2 separate regions of the Homo sapiens genome follow, and region 2 is linked to region 1. Evidence: promoter capture Hi-C in 16 types of primary human blood cells and fetal thymus (Javierre and others, 2016). All regions are on one chromosome and are shown on one strand. The core of a region is centred on a gene start or on the middle of the fragment in contact, and the rest is flanking DNA. Distances in the headings are between cores, read along the strand shown.

Region 1 (7,307 bases), core at 1-2,500:
CCTGAGGTCGAGAGTTCAAGACCAACCAGCCTGACAAACGTGGAGAAACCCCATCTCTACTATAAATACAAAATTAGCCGGGGTGGTGGCACATGCCTGTAATCCCAGATACTCGGGAGGCTGAGGCAGAAGAATAGCTTGAACCCGGGAGGCGGAGGTTGCGGTGAGCCGAGATTGTGCCATTGCACTCCAGCCTGGGCAAAAAGAGTGAAACTCCATCTCAAAAAAAAAAAAAAAAAACAACTTTGTGCAAGGCAAGATATGAGTATCTTTCTGTGCATGTCCTGAGCCCTTGCCTGGTGCAAAGCCGCAGGGCAGATCCTGGGAGACCCCCCTATTCCCTCCCTTCTGGAAGTGTCTGGGTATTCTTAGGCCTCCCAGCCTTTGCCTCTGCTGTGCTCTCTGCCTGGGATGCCCACCTGGCTTGTCATCTCAAGTGCCACTTCTTGGAAGCTCCTCCTGTTAACCTCCCTCCCCCACCCAGGATGGAAGGAGAGGCCCCTCCCTTGCTCACCGCAGGATGGCACTCACTGCGCTGTGTCATTGTGGCATGATGTTCCACCGAATTGTTTACTCGCTGGCCTCCCCATTGGATGGAGGGCTACCAGAGGGCCACAGCCCAGAATTGCTGGCCTTTAGACCTCAGGGCATGCAGTCTGGAGTGCCAGAGTTGGTCAAATGAACAAATTTAGGATGAAGAAATAAGATAAGCAGGACTTGCCCTTGTGGTATCTGTAGTCCAGCTCCCTAGAGAGGCTCTTGGTTGCAGCTGAAAGGGCCTGTGCTGTGCATCTACAGAGAGTGTTTTGAGTCCTGCGAGAAGAAATACACCATATTTGCAAACCCTTTGAAGGTTCATATTTTGTGTTTTTTGCTCCCTGACCACCTCCCACCCCTCCCCACGCCCCACCAATCTTGGGCAAGAAGCGAGACCATTCTCCTTTTTCTCTGGTCACTCCTGTCCTTCAGGGGGCTCCCTCTGGCCCCGACTGTCCATTGCTGCTGAAGTAATGCTGTGGCCTTTCTCAGTTTGGGCCCCACCCAAAACCGAAGAACTTCTCCCCAGAAAGCTTCTACTTGGTTCTCAGTGTTTTCACAGTTATGGGAACCCAAGAACAGTGTCAGACCTAGGAGGTGCCCCACTACCACCCTGTCTTTATCAATGTTGTCACCAAAGCTGTCACAAACAATGGGGTGTGGGCTGTCACATGGCCCTGCCTAAGTAACCACATTCTCGCTTCCTCCTTCCACACACAGCCATTGGGGGTTGCTCGGATCCGGGACTGCCGCAGGGGGTGCCACAGCAGTGCCTGGCAGCGTGGGCTGGGACCTTGTCACTAAAGCAGAGAAGCCACTTCTTCTGGGCCCACGAGGCAGCTGTCCCATGCTCTGCTGAGCACGGTGGTAAGTGCTGGCTTGCAAAACCACAGGGAGTGGCTGGAGGTCCCCATGGGCCAAGGGCCTGCCTTATAGCTGCTGGCAGGCCCGGGTAGGACCGCCAGGCCCTTCTTGAGCTGCAGCACCTGGGGAGGGCAAACTGAGGCTCCTCCGACTCAAGACTAAAGTCTTCCTGGAGTCTGTGGCCTTATTCTGTGACTCTTCTGAATCCTGCTCCTGCCAACTTTTTTTTTCCTTCTTTTTTTGAGACAGGGTCTTACTCTGTCACCCAGGCTGGAGTGCAGTGGCACAATCATGGCTCACTGCAGCCTTAAACTCCTGGGCACAAGTGATCCTCCCACCTCAGCCTCCTGAGTAGCTGGGACTACAGGCGCACATCGCCGCATGCAGCTAATATTTTTACCTTTCCTAGAGATGGGGTCTCACTTTGATGCCGAGGCTGGTCTCAAACTCCTGGCCTCAAGCCTCTTGCGTTGGCCTCCCAAAGTGCTGAAATTACAGGTGTGACCCACCAGCCCCAGCCTCCCATTAACTTACTTCCCTCCCTGGCCAGTTTGCCTGCAGCGTCTGGCTTGGCGGCATTCTGATTTTGAAAATCAGAGAAACCATGAGTGTTTCCCTAGAAATGATCTTATCCTCTCCTTTCCTGGATGGGAAACTGAGGTCGGGAGAGGTGAAGGGATTTGTTTAGGGGCAGAGCTGAGATTAGGTCTGGAAGACTCCAGAAAGTAGGGGGAGTGCAGGATTTCTCTTGAAGCTGCATGTTATGGACGCATAAAAAAGTTCTTTTCAGAGAAAGATGCATTCTTCCCACTTTTTATAAGACTGAGGAAATGACACTTGTCTGTGGCAAACTATTAAAATATTAGAATTAAGATACTATTGTTAGCAAAAGGGAAAACAATAATAATAATAATAATTAGAATATTTGGCTGGGTGCAGTGGCTTACACCTGTAATCCCAGCCCTTTGGGAGGCCGAGGCAGGTGGTTGGCCTGAGCTCAGGAGTTCTAGACCAACCTGGGCAACATGGTGAAACCTCGTCTCTACCAAAAATACAAAAACTTAGCTAGGTGTAGTGGTGTATGCCTGTGGTCTCAGCTACTTGGGAGGCTGAGGTGGGAGGATCACTTGAACCTGGGAGGGGGAGGTCGCAGTAAGCCGAGATTGTGCCACTGCACTCCAACCCGGGTGGCAGAGTGAGACCCTGTCTCAAAAAAAAAAAAATTAGAATACTCTTATTAGTTTGTATTTGAGATACTTTCAGGACACTAAAAGGAAATGGTGGGGGCCAGTTGTGCCCTGCTGTACACACATTCACACACACACACACACACACACACACACACACACACACCCCATATTGTCGATATCTGGGCTTCTGTTGCCTGGAATTCTCTTCCTCTTTCCTCTTTCTTCTGTTTTCCTTTTTTTTCCATCTCTGACTTTGAGGCCCCCAGAGCCAGGCCCCTCAGTGGGCCGGGGCCTCAGAAGGTGGCTCCCAGGCCCTCAGACAGCCCCAGAGTCTCTTCCGAGGCCGTGCCCTGGGTGGTTGATGCCTCCCTCAGCAGGCTTGGCCAGCAGCCAGGGGAGTTAAACCTCAGAGAGCGGAAGGGCTGGGTTGCTAGGCTGGGCCCAGAGTGGGGCATTCAGAGGAGCTGGGGAATCAATCATCCGAGAACCTTGGAGGGTGGACAGTGCCCCTTTTACAGATGAGAAAACTGAGGCTTGAAGGGGAGAAGCAGCTGCCTCTGGCGGCATGGCTTCTGGCTGCAGGATGCCCATGGAGTTCGTGGTGACCCTAGGCCTGTGTCTCGGCTTCCTTTGCTGAACTTGAACAGGAAGATGGCAGTGGGGGCCAGTGGTCTAGAAGGAGATAAGATGGCTGGTGTGTGTGTGTTGGGGGTCTGTGTTTGTTAATCTGTCTGTCTACACAGGGGTGTTTAGAAAACTGTTTAAAGACAGTTGTTCAACTAACCAGATGTAGGTCTCATTGAATTCATTTGTGCCAAGTACCTTACTGCCTCTGGATCAGGCCAGCAAGTTTGGGTTCCAACAGGTGTAACTTGGTTCTTGGTGGGGTGGAGGGTAGGGAGGGGGGTGTAACAAAAAAATCTCAACTAACACTGTGGTTTGCAAGCCACCAAACATTAAACAGATATACAGCATATCTGTGCTATTAACTTTTCATGAGGAGGGCTGGTCACCGTGGCTCATGCCTATAAATCCCAGCACTTTGGGAGGCTGAAGCAGATGGATTGCTTGAGCCCAGGAGTTTGAGACCAACCTGGGCAACATGGGGAAAACCCATCTCTACAAAAAATTTAAAAGTAGCCGGGTCTGGTGGCATGCACCTGTAGTCCTAGCTACTTGGGAGGATCGCTTGAGCCCAGGAGTTCAAGCCTGCAGTGAGCTATGATTGCACCACTGTAGTCGAGCCTGGGCAACAGAGAAAGACCCTATCTCTAAAATTAAATAAATAAATAAACCTTTCATAAGGGCGATGATAAGTGGGAAAAAATGTCTACAGAGACTCCCTGATGTGAGTTGAGGTAGATGACGGAAAGAGGTTGCAAAGTGTCAGCTGGCAAATGTGGTGTGAAAAGTGTGAAGACAGCACGTGCTGTGCAGTTCTGTGCACGTTCCCCTGCCTCAGTCACATGTCCTCTTCTGCAGAGGCATTTAGTGAGGCCCCTGGGGATGCCAGGAGACCCAGGAGAGCTCCTGCCCTCCAAAAACTTGTGGTCTGGTGGGGGCAGCAGAGCAGACAGCCACAGTGGTTGCCAGCCACTGGGGCGAGTGTTGCGAGGGGTGTGTGCCTGCCCATCGGCTGAATCCTGGGCCTGTGGCCTGATCAGCAAGACAGCTGTGGTTCCTGCCTTCTGGAAGTTTAGGAGTCAATGTGAATACATTTTTAGAAAATAAATGAACAGCAGAAATGATTTAAACACGGGAGGTGACTAATCGTGCCTGGGGCAATCTGGAAAGGCTTCTGGGAGGACTCAGCATTTCCCTGGCCCTCTTCAACCCACAACAACCCCATAAAAAGCGGGTGCTACCATTGTCCTTGTATTCCAGCTAAGGAACCCACAGCTCAGAGAGGTGAGGTGAGTTGCCCCAGGTCACACAGCTTCTAAGGGACAGAGCTGGGGATTGACCTGGTTTGATGTGACTCCCAGGGCACAGCAGGGCAGGGCAGGGCCTGTCCTGTCTACCCAGACTTAGATCTGCTGCCTGTGCCTCAGTTATCTGGGGTCTTTCCTTCTCTTGGTGACTACTTGACCCAAACCCTGAGATGCTCAGTCTTTTGAATTTTAGCATTCCAAGATCCTGCCCGCTCTGACCACCAGTTTCAGGATTCTCAGTGCAAGGTTCCTAGCGGCGTGGAGCCCCACGAGGATCTTTCCTGAGCAGCTCAGGGCGGCCACACGGCGGGTTCTCTGGAGCTGGAGTCTGGGCCCCCTGCAGCCTGCTCCTCCACACAGCCTAGATGGGGCCCATATGGGGTCTAGATGGGGCCTGGGCCAGAAGCAGCCTGGTTTTAGGGCGAAAGAGGCAAACGAGCAGTCTCTGACCTACTCTGTTAGGCAAGTGTTGAGACAAATAGGACGTGGTCACTGGAGACGCCTCTGTCGGAGCCCTGCCCTGGCCCCACTTCTGTGGGACTGTTTTTTGGCCTTCCAGGAAGAGGAGAGGTGGAAGGTGGGGCCTGGGAGTGATCCCGCCGCTCCGGGCCTTGCTTGCTAATCAGTGTGATGGCACCGTTAGAGCCAGTGAACACAGGGGTGAGGAGGAATGAGGTCACCAGATAGTGAGAGGATGAAATCATCCCTCCGTGGGAGGGGCTTCCACATATGTCATTTTTATTGTTGTATAATACATTTACTGTAGCAAATATTAAGGAGGTATTATGCTACCTGCCATACACGGTGAGAAAACTCAGCTCCTCCCCCTTCTACCTGTGTGGCCTCAGCTGAGACAAGATCTCTCAGAGCCTCGGGTTTTCTTTTCTTTCATTAAAAAAAATATGTTTTTTTCTTAGAGACAGGGTCTTACTCTGTCACCCAGGCTGGAGTGCAGTGGTGCGATCATAGCTCACTGCAGCCTTGACCTGGGCTCAAGCCATCCTCTGGCCTCAGCCTCCCGAGTAGCTGGGACTACAGGCATCACCAGCATACCTGGCTAATTTTTAATTTTTTTGTAGATATGGGTCTCAGTATGTTGCCCAGGCTGGTCTTGAACCCCTGCCTTCAAGTCATCCTCCTGCCTTGGCCTCCCAAAGTGCTAGGAGTACAAGCTCGAGGCACCGTGCCTGGCTGAGCCTCAGATTTTCTTTCTGTTAGATGGGCTGATGCCTGCTCAGCTGTGGCCTGGCTCCAGGCTGCTGTGTCTTAAAGCCAGTGGGATGGCAGGGACCAGGCTGGGGTGACCAACAACCCCCCACCCCCAGTTTGCCTGGGAGTGAGGGGTTTCTGGGGTTGAGGGACTTTCAGCACTGACACCAGGAACATGTAGGATAAGGTGGTTGCTTTAGACGGGCCCAGGAAAGGAGGTCTGGGCTTTCCGAATGTACCAGGTCTTATCATAACAGGTACGGAGGTCTCTGCTTTCTCAAAGCCCAAACACCCACAGGGGAGGTAGAGAGGCCGCCATCTCCATACCCTCTGAGTCTGAGACCTCCATTTCCTCTGCTCATCTGCCTGCAGCGCCGAAGAGAGTCCTCCAGATAAAGTACCCCCGGCTGGAAGCCAGCGTCTGGGAACTTCCATACACTCATTCAATTCTCATGATGATTTTTTTTAAGCAATATTGCCGGTTTTACAATGAGGAAACTGAGGCTTAGAGAGGGTGAAGCAACCTGCCCGAGTTTACACAGCCGCTAAGTGGGGGCAAATGTGGGATTCAGGCCCCAGCCTCTCCTCCACCCCAGCTGTCTCTGGGTGCAGGAGGCTGTGGGGATGGCTGTAGGGGAAGGGTGGGCAACAGTGACAGCCTACCTGAAGAACTGGGCCCCAGCACCCTCCGTGTTTCTGTGTTATTCTCCCAGCCTCCGGCCTGCTGCAAGTCCGGCCCTGACTCACCAAGATGCCTCCCCCAACCCGGGAACCAGGGAGACCAGGCCTTGCAACTTTGCCCCCACCTTCTCTGCTTCCAGGAAGTGGCTGAGGGCTTTGCCTTCCAGGAACAGAGAACTGCCCAAGTGGGGGTTGGTAGCTGTGAGTGTGCTCATAAGTATGAAATATGTCTCTAGGCTAATGGCTTCTTCCTAAAGTCCCTGCCTCCAGGAAAGTGGGGCCAAGGTTGGGCCGTAGATTCTTCCCCCAGATAAGAACTCTACCCCAAAGAAATTCTGCTGCCCTGAAGGCAAATTGGGAGGCAAAAGTGTGTGTGTGTGTGTGTGTGTGTGTGTGTGTGTGTGTGTGTGTGTTACATTTATTAAGCACCTACTGTAAGCTTGGAACTTTTGTTTTCTTGTTTTGTTTTGAGACAGGGTCTCACTCTGTCGCCCAGGCTGGAGTGCAGTGGTACAATCTCGGCTCACTGCAGTCTCAACCTTCCAGGCTTAAGCGATCCTCCCACATTAGCCTCCCCAGTAGCTGAGACGATAGGTGTGCATCATCATGCCTGGCTAATTTTTCTATTTAAAATTTTTTTATTTTATTTTTGAGGCAGGGTCTTGCTTTGTCACCCAGGCTGGGGTGCAGTGGCATGATCACAGCTCACTGCAGCCTCAATCTCTCCAGGCTCAAGCAATTCTCCCATCTCCGCCTCCTGAGTAGCTGGGACTACAGGGGCACACCACCACTCCTGGCTAATTTTTTGTATTTTGTAGAGACGAGAGACAGGGCTTCACCATGTTGCCCAGGCTGGTCTGGAACTCCTGAGCTCAAGCAATCCACCTGCCTTGGC
Region 2 (6,307 bases), core at 2,777-5,276, 4.4 Mb before region 1:
ATCAGGTCCATATTACAGGTGAGGAAACAGAGGCTCAGAGGCTCAGGGAGGGAGTGTGGTTTACTTAAGGTCACAAATCTCCCCACCCACTACGATTCTTTTTTTTTTTTTTGAGACGGAGTCTCACTCTGTTACTCAGGCTGGAGTGCAATGGCTCAATCTCAGCTCACTGCTACCTCCACCTCCCGGGTTCAAGTGATTCTCCTGCCTTGGCCTCCCGAGTAGCTGGGATTACAGGCGCCCACCACCATGCCCACTAATTTTTGTATTTTTAGTAGAGAGGGGGTTTTACCATGTTGGCCAGGCTGGTCTCGAACTCCTGACCTCAGGTGATCCACTCACCTTAGCCTCCCAAAGTGCTGGGATTATAGATGTGAGCCACCACACCCGGCCTACACACCCCATGATTCTTAGTAAGCAGCTGGGATGGGAACCCAGAGCCTGGCCCTCACCAACAGCATTCCCCGAGGTAGCTGTTTCCAGGTTCCAGGCCCCATGTCCTCAGTTGATGTCAGCCAGAGGCAGCTAGGGGCTGCTGGGGGTGTCTGTGTCAACCCAGAGGCTGGGTGGGCTCATGGGGGTGACTATCTAAGGGACTGGAGCTGTCCTGGGGACTGGCTACCACCGGTTGTGATTCCAGAGCCAGGTGGAAGGATGGAGGCCCAGGGAGAGACAGAGGTGGCGGGCGGAGGCCTGGGAGCACCCCAGGCACCCCCATGCACCAAGAACATCACACTGGAGAGAGAGTTAGGGACCTCAACCCCATTGCCTACTGCCTGAATGGGCACTTGGAGCCACTGTGACCAGTCCTGCCCCAACCCCTTGGCCTCCCCGTGGCCTCCCCGTCCTGGCCCCTCCTCGTCACCCTCTCATCACACCCTCCATCATCTCCCCTCCCAACCCCTCACGCTTCACTCCTTACCACCTTCTTCACCATCCCCTCCACAGCCCCGCTACCTGTCACTTCCGCATCACCTCCCCTACTCCAGCCCCCACGCTTCCCATCACAGCTTCCATCTCCTCCTTCCTCTCCAGGTCAGACTCCGCAGCTCCTTTGGAAGAATGAGGCGGGGGATGGGAGGAAGCTGGAGAGGAGGAGGGAGGGAAGAAGGAGGAGAAAGGGGTGAGGGGAGGAGAAGGAGAGGGAGAGGGCTGCGAGGGGGTCTGTCCCGGGCATCCCCACCCCCAGCCCGGAAGGCGCGGGCGGGTCGTTGATGGTGCTGTCCAAGGTACTCGGTGGCCCGGGCGAGCCTGGGAAGGGCCGTGCGCACCCAGCTGCAGACCTGGATCTGATCTCAGACCCGTCTCTTCTCAGCGTCGGCAGGCGGCTCCCCACCCTCTGAGCTTCAGCTTTACTATGTGTAAAATGGGGTGACACCCGCTGGCTGGGTGAAGGGAACCCAGACAGACTGTAGGAAGTGCCTGAGGCTGCCCCTGCCCCACCTGCTCCAGCTCCAAGGGCCCGTGATTAATGAGGCTGGTCCTGCAGCGTGGCTGTGAGTCCCCCGGGGCCTGGCTGCTAAAGGGCAGCAGCTGGCAGCCCAGCCTGCCAGGCCCCAGTGGGCCCCACGAGGCCTCCTCTACCCATCCCCTATCTCCCATCACAGCCTCCCTCTGCCACCCAGGCCTGAGACCCTCCTCCAGGACCCTGCTGAAGGACCCCTGCTGTTTCCTCCACCTGTAAGTGTTCCTCCTATCATTCTATTTACCCAAATCACACACTCTCAAAGGACTCCTCCTCCAGGAAGTCCTCCTCTCAGAGGCTCCAGGCATACACCATGCACATCCCATGGCTGAAGGCACCGTGCATCTGCCTAGTGAGGCATTTAAATCTTTTTCTTCCTCGAGCATGAGTGCTTACTACGTGCAAAGTAGTATCCTCCAAGCTTTTATCTACATATCTCATTTATGTATCTCATTATGTCCTCATGACAACCCTCCCAGCTAGGGACTATTCTTATCCCCATTTTACAGAGGAGGAAATAAACTCAGAGACGTTAAGGAATTTGCCCATGGTCACACAGCCAGCAAGGGGCCAAGCTGGGTTTTAGGTCTGTATCTGTTGTCCTTATGAGTCAGAGGGTTCAAAGGCTATTTCCATGATATGCATTTGCCTTCACCTTCACTAGACTCTGAAACTGATCTGAAATGGATAGATTAGACTCTGAAATGGATTTTGCCCTTCTCTCTGAGTCCCCAAGACCCAGCCCAGGACCTGGTACTGAGAAGCCACCAATGACTACCAAATACGAGCGATGAATTTAGTTTCAAAACAGGCTTCTGGAGTTAGCCAAGCAGCCAGAGACCATGGGTCTGCAATAGTAGAAATACAGACAGCGTGACTGGTGGTTGGGGAGCACCCACATATGGATTAGCTGGACCTGCTGCTACCAGAGATGGGCCGCTCCCTGCCCCTACACATAGTCTTTCTTGCCCCTGGCATCAGGCCCAGCCCTAGTCTCCAGTGAGGAGGCTGGAGAGAGGGTCCCAAAGGGTCCTGTAACCAGGAGCTGAGCCCTGGAGGCCTCCAGGGTAGTGCAGGCTGTCCCTGCCTTGGGCTAGACCCTGACAACAAGCCCCAAGAGCGCTCTCAAGGGAGAAGGGGGAAGGGGGAAGGGGTTCTCTCAGCCCTGGCATTAAATGTCACCTTGTTTTCTATCCCTAAGGCCTGTCTGGGGGGCCTGGGCTCTAGCTTAGGACTGGTAGGCTGTGTGACCTTGGGGAAGTCACTCACCCTCTCTGGGCCTCACTGTCCCCAGTTGGTGTCTAATTCTGGAGGTGTTTTCCCCGGTGATGGGAAAAGCTCCTCCCATCTGGGTGGTAACAGCCTAAGGGTCTCCAGCCTAAGTGTCCTCAGATAGTGCTTCCTCTCATGGCAGGGACCAGGGCTGAGTGAAGCCCAAGGTTTCCAGGGAAGGAGGCAGGCTGGAAGATCCCAGAACCAGCCACCACCTGCCACTCCAGCCTGTTGGCCAGCTTGGGGGCACCAGAAAAGGCCAGGCTTGCAGCCTCGGGTATGGCATCTTTGGATGGTCCCCAGCTGGCATCCCTCGGCCTCAGCTATCCCATCAGCAGAAGGGGCAGGAGGCTGCCATGCACCCCTCCAGCAGCACATGGAGAGCGACATGGGAGATACCAGGCAGATAGGTGCCCCTCCCCAGCTCCAGTCATATGAGGCCAGGGAGCGAGCTGGGAGCTTCTGCGGAAGTGGCTGAGTTACACCTCTGTCCAGCTGTGTGAACTGGGTGGGAAATTCAGGGTCTGGGTGAGGCCCTCGGAGGCGGCTGTCCCAGTGGCAGGGGATGTAAATGACCCCCCAGGGAAGATGTGGCTTCTTCTCTGGGAGCAGAAAGCCATTCTCAAACCTTTCCCCGACTGCCAGTGGCAGCCAACCCCCTCACCCCAAGACCCTGATGGCTCCTGGGCCCAGCCCAGCCACCAGCTGAGCATACCCTTCGGCCTTGGGCTTCCCATATGTGGCAATCTTTGTCTGTGGGAGGGACGGTTGGAGACAGAGGGAAATGAAGAAAGAAAGCTTTGAGGGAAACCGGGCACTTGGCTCAGTACTGCGAAGCGAGCAAGCGACCCATCCCTCGCCCAGCTCTGACTCTCCCTCCAACCCTCTGCCTGGGACACCACCGTGATTGATCTAACATCATCCAGCTCAGGGTCACAGCATTAGGCCTCCCCGTGGAGGGGCTCCAGTTTCCAGTCCAGACTCTGGGCTCTGGACCTGGAGGGCTTCAAAGGGAACCTCACCCCCTGCAGGGAGCAGTGAAAACAGCCCAGCAGGGGAAAGGTGAGGGGGCACGGCTGAACAAACCGCAGCCCCTGTGGGGCCAGAGCCTGGCTTCTCCCCTGTGGCCCCAGCCTGACACCGGGGCTTTCTTCCGCTGGCTGCACTGCACGGGAGGCACATACACAGGGCATGTGTGTGTCGGCATTGTGCGAGCAGACTGGTGCTGTGTGTGTGTACGCACACGCACGTGTACCTTGGTACACACCACAAGGGGTGGATAAGCCATGCTGGGTGTCCTGTGGCACCAGCACGGTCTTACCCCATGCTCAGGTTCAGAACATGTGGGGCAGGGGTCAGTGAACCTGCAGCACACAGGCCAAATCCACCCACCATCTGCTATCGTGCAGCTCAGGAAGTAAGAATGGCTTTTACATTTTTAAATGGTTGGGGGAAAAAAAAGAATATTTCATGACCCGTGAAAAAGATATGAAATTCAAATTTCTGTGTCCACAACTAGTTTGATTAGAACACAGCCACACGCATTCACTTACATATTGTCTATGCTGCTTTTCTGCTCCGATAGAGTTGAATAGTTACAACAGAGACTGCAGGTCCCACAAAGTTAAAAGATTTATTATCTGATGCTATTAGAAAAAAATCAGCCAGCTCCTGCATTGGGAAACTAGCAAAGCTAGGGCAGTCTCCCCTCAAAGTTCAAGTTCAGCTTCAATGAACATATCAAGAATTTTACAATTAGAAAATCTAGACAGAAGCTTGTGTTGATTTCAGCACATACACATGAGTTTTGGGTTTTACAGCATTATGTTGGAGTGTGTGTGTGTGTGTGTGTGTGTGTGTGTGTGTGTGTATGAAATATAATATTTTCAAGATTCACAGCCAGGCACAGTGGCTCACGCTTGTAATCCCAGCACTTTGGGAGGCCGAGGCGGGCGGCTCACTTGAGGCCAGGAGTTCAAGACCAGCTTGGCCAACAGGGTAAAACCCCATCTCTACTAAAAATACAAAAATTAGCCGGGTGTGGTATGTGGTAGCTTGCCTGTAATGCCAGCTACTTGGGAGGTTGAGGCACGAGAATCACTTGAACCCGGGGAAAGAGGCTGCAGTGAGCCGACATCACACCACTGTACTCTAGCCTGGGAGACAGAGTGAGACACTGTCTCAAAAAAAGAAGAAAAAAAAAAGATTTAAGATCTTTTGCTTGTCTCTCTTGTACCCACAGTGGTGAGCACGTGCTAGATGCACAGTAGATAATTAGTTGATGTTTGTGGGATAAAATCAGCCAGATTCTCTCTGTTCAACCCGACAACCCTGCTGGAGAGGTGATCCTCTCACCCATTTCACGGATGTGGAAACTGAGACCTGGAGAGGCCTGAGGTCACACCGTTGGCACTCAGGTCTGCTCCCTGCCGGTTGAGGCTCTTTTCCAGTGCGTTACCAATGAGGACAAGACGTCCTTTCTTGACATTGTTTTGCTCCTGGGTAAAGCGAGGGAAAAACCCTCACATATCTGGTGAGGAGGCCTCTTGCCCCACTCTCCAGCAGGTTCCCAGGCAGCTGAGGTCTCCTGCCAATCGCAATAGGTTTCCAGGCCTTCCTCCCTCTCTGGTTGGGGTGGGAGGGGGTTCCTGGCAGGCTCCCAGGAGTCCATTTAGGAATGAGTGTTTTTTTTCCCTTTTCCGGCAAACAGGGGGCAGGTGTGGAGTGAACAGCTCTGGAGAGAGGGAGAGGGGAAGTGACCAGAGCTGAACTTCTGGGGGATCCAGTGAGGCTGAACCATAAAAGGGGTACTATTGAGAGAATGGGGCCTGATGAAAGGGGAGTGTGCAAGTCTGGGGACTCGGGAACATAAGGGGATGCTGGGAATAGAAATGGGGGTCCCCCCAAAGATAAGAGGATCAAAGGTAAAGTTGCCAACTTGGCAGCCTTGTGGGGAGTCTGTCCCTGCTTCTAAGGACCCTGCCGCCCATACCCAACCCAGCTAGGTCCCGGAAGATCTCTACACCCAGCATTAGCTCTGAACCTGCAGAACACCAGACCTCCTAGCAAGGAGTGACACCTACCCACTTCTGCTCTCACAGCCCTGCCCTCTACCCCTAGGAGAAAACAGAATGGGGCGGGTAATGTGCAACACTTCCCCTTCTTCCATCAGGTCCTTGGTGCCTCTCTGGAAGAATGGGCACATGGAGCTAATGATGACTTCTACTCTCTGGATCAAATTCAAAGTTCTTTGCGTGGCTGTCCAGGCCTGTACATCCGGTCCTTGCTCAGCTGCCATCTTGCACCATCTTCCCCTTGGTGGGAGATGCATCCCAAACAGAACGGACTTAAATGTCCTCTGCCCCTTCCTACCCCAGGGCCTTTGCACTGGCTGTGCCCTCTGCCTGGGACACTGGCACCCTCACTCATTCTTCAGATCTCTGTTCAAACATCACTTTCTCAGGCTAGCCTTCCCTGAGTACCTCTGGGCCAGGTTTAGTTCATGCTCTCGGATCTGCCACTGATTGTCTCTGTGGTGATATGTTTGCTTGCTCCCTGACCACACCAGGA

Evidence for each region. The method cuts DNA at HindIII sites, captures the fragments that hold promoters and counts their contacts. A CHiCAGO score of 5 or more calls a contact.
Region 2: a contact is called between a fragment that was not itself captured here and the fragment with the promoter of SELPLG in region 1, in 1 of 17 cell types (total B cells). The highest score is 5.8, in total B cells.

The regions. Positions count from the first base shown.
Region 1 is chr12:108,627,837-108,635,143 of GRCh38, reverse strand. It overlaps SELPLG (selectin P ligand), which reads left to right and starts at 1,250. Exons shown (of 2, transcript NM_003006.4): 1 at 1,250-1,404. It overlaps LOC105369968 (a long non-coding RNA gene), which reads right to left and starts at 6,498. Exons shown (of 3, transcript XR_007063449.1): 1 at 6,395-6,498; 2 at 1-813. RefSeq lists a silencer at 439-488 and enhancers at 1,729-1,778, 3,187-3,336. The HindIII fragment of the contact is 5,781 bases long and covers 1,073-6,853 here.
Region 2 is chr12:113,060,333-113,066,639 of GRCh38, reverse strand. The region is part of intron 2 of DTX1 (deltex E3 ubiquitin ligase 1); the gene reads right to left. Among named protein-coding and RNA genes, the nearest start is that of DTX1, 6.8 kb to the right of the region's middle. RefSeq lists a silencer at 1,129-1,329 and an enhancer at 814-1,372. The HindIII fragment of the contact is 977 bases long and covers 3,538-4,514 here.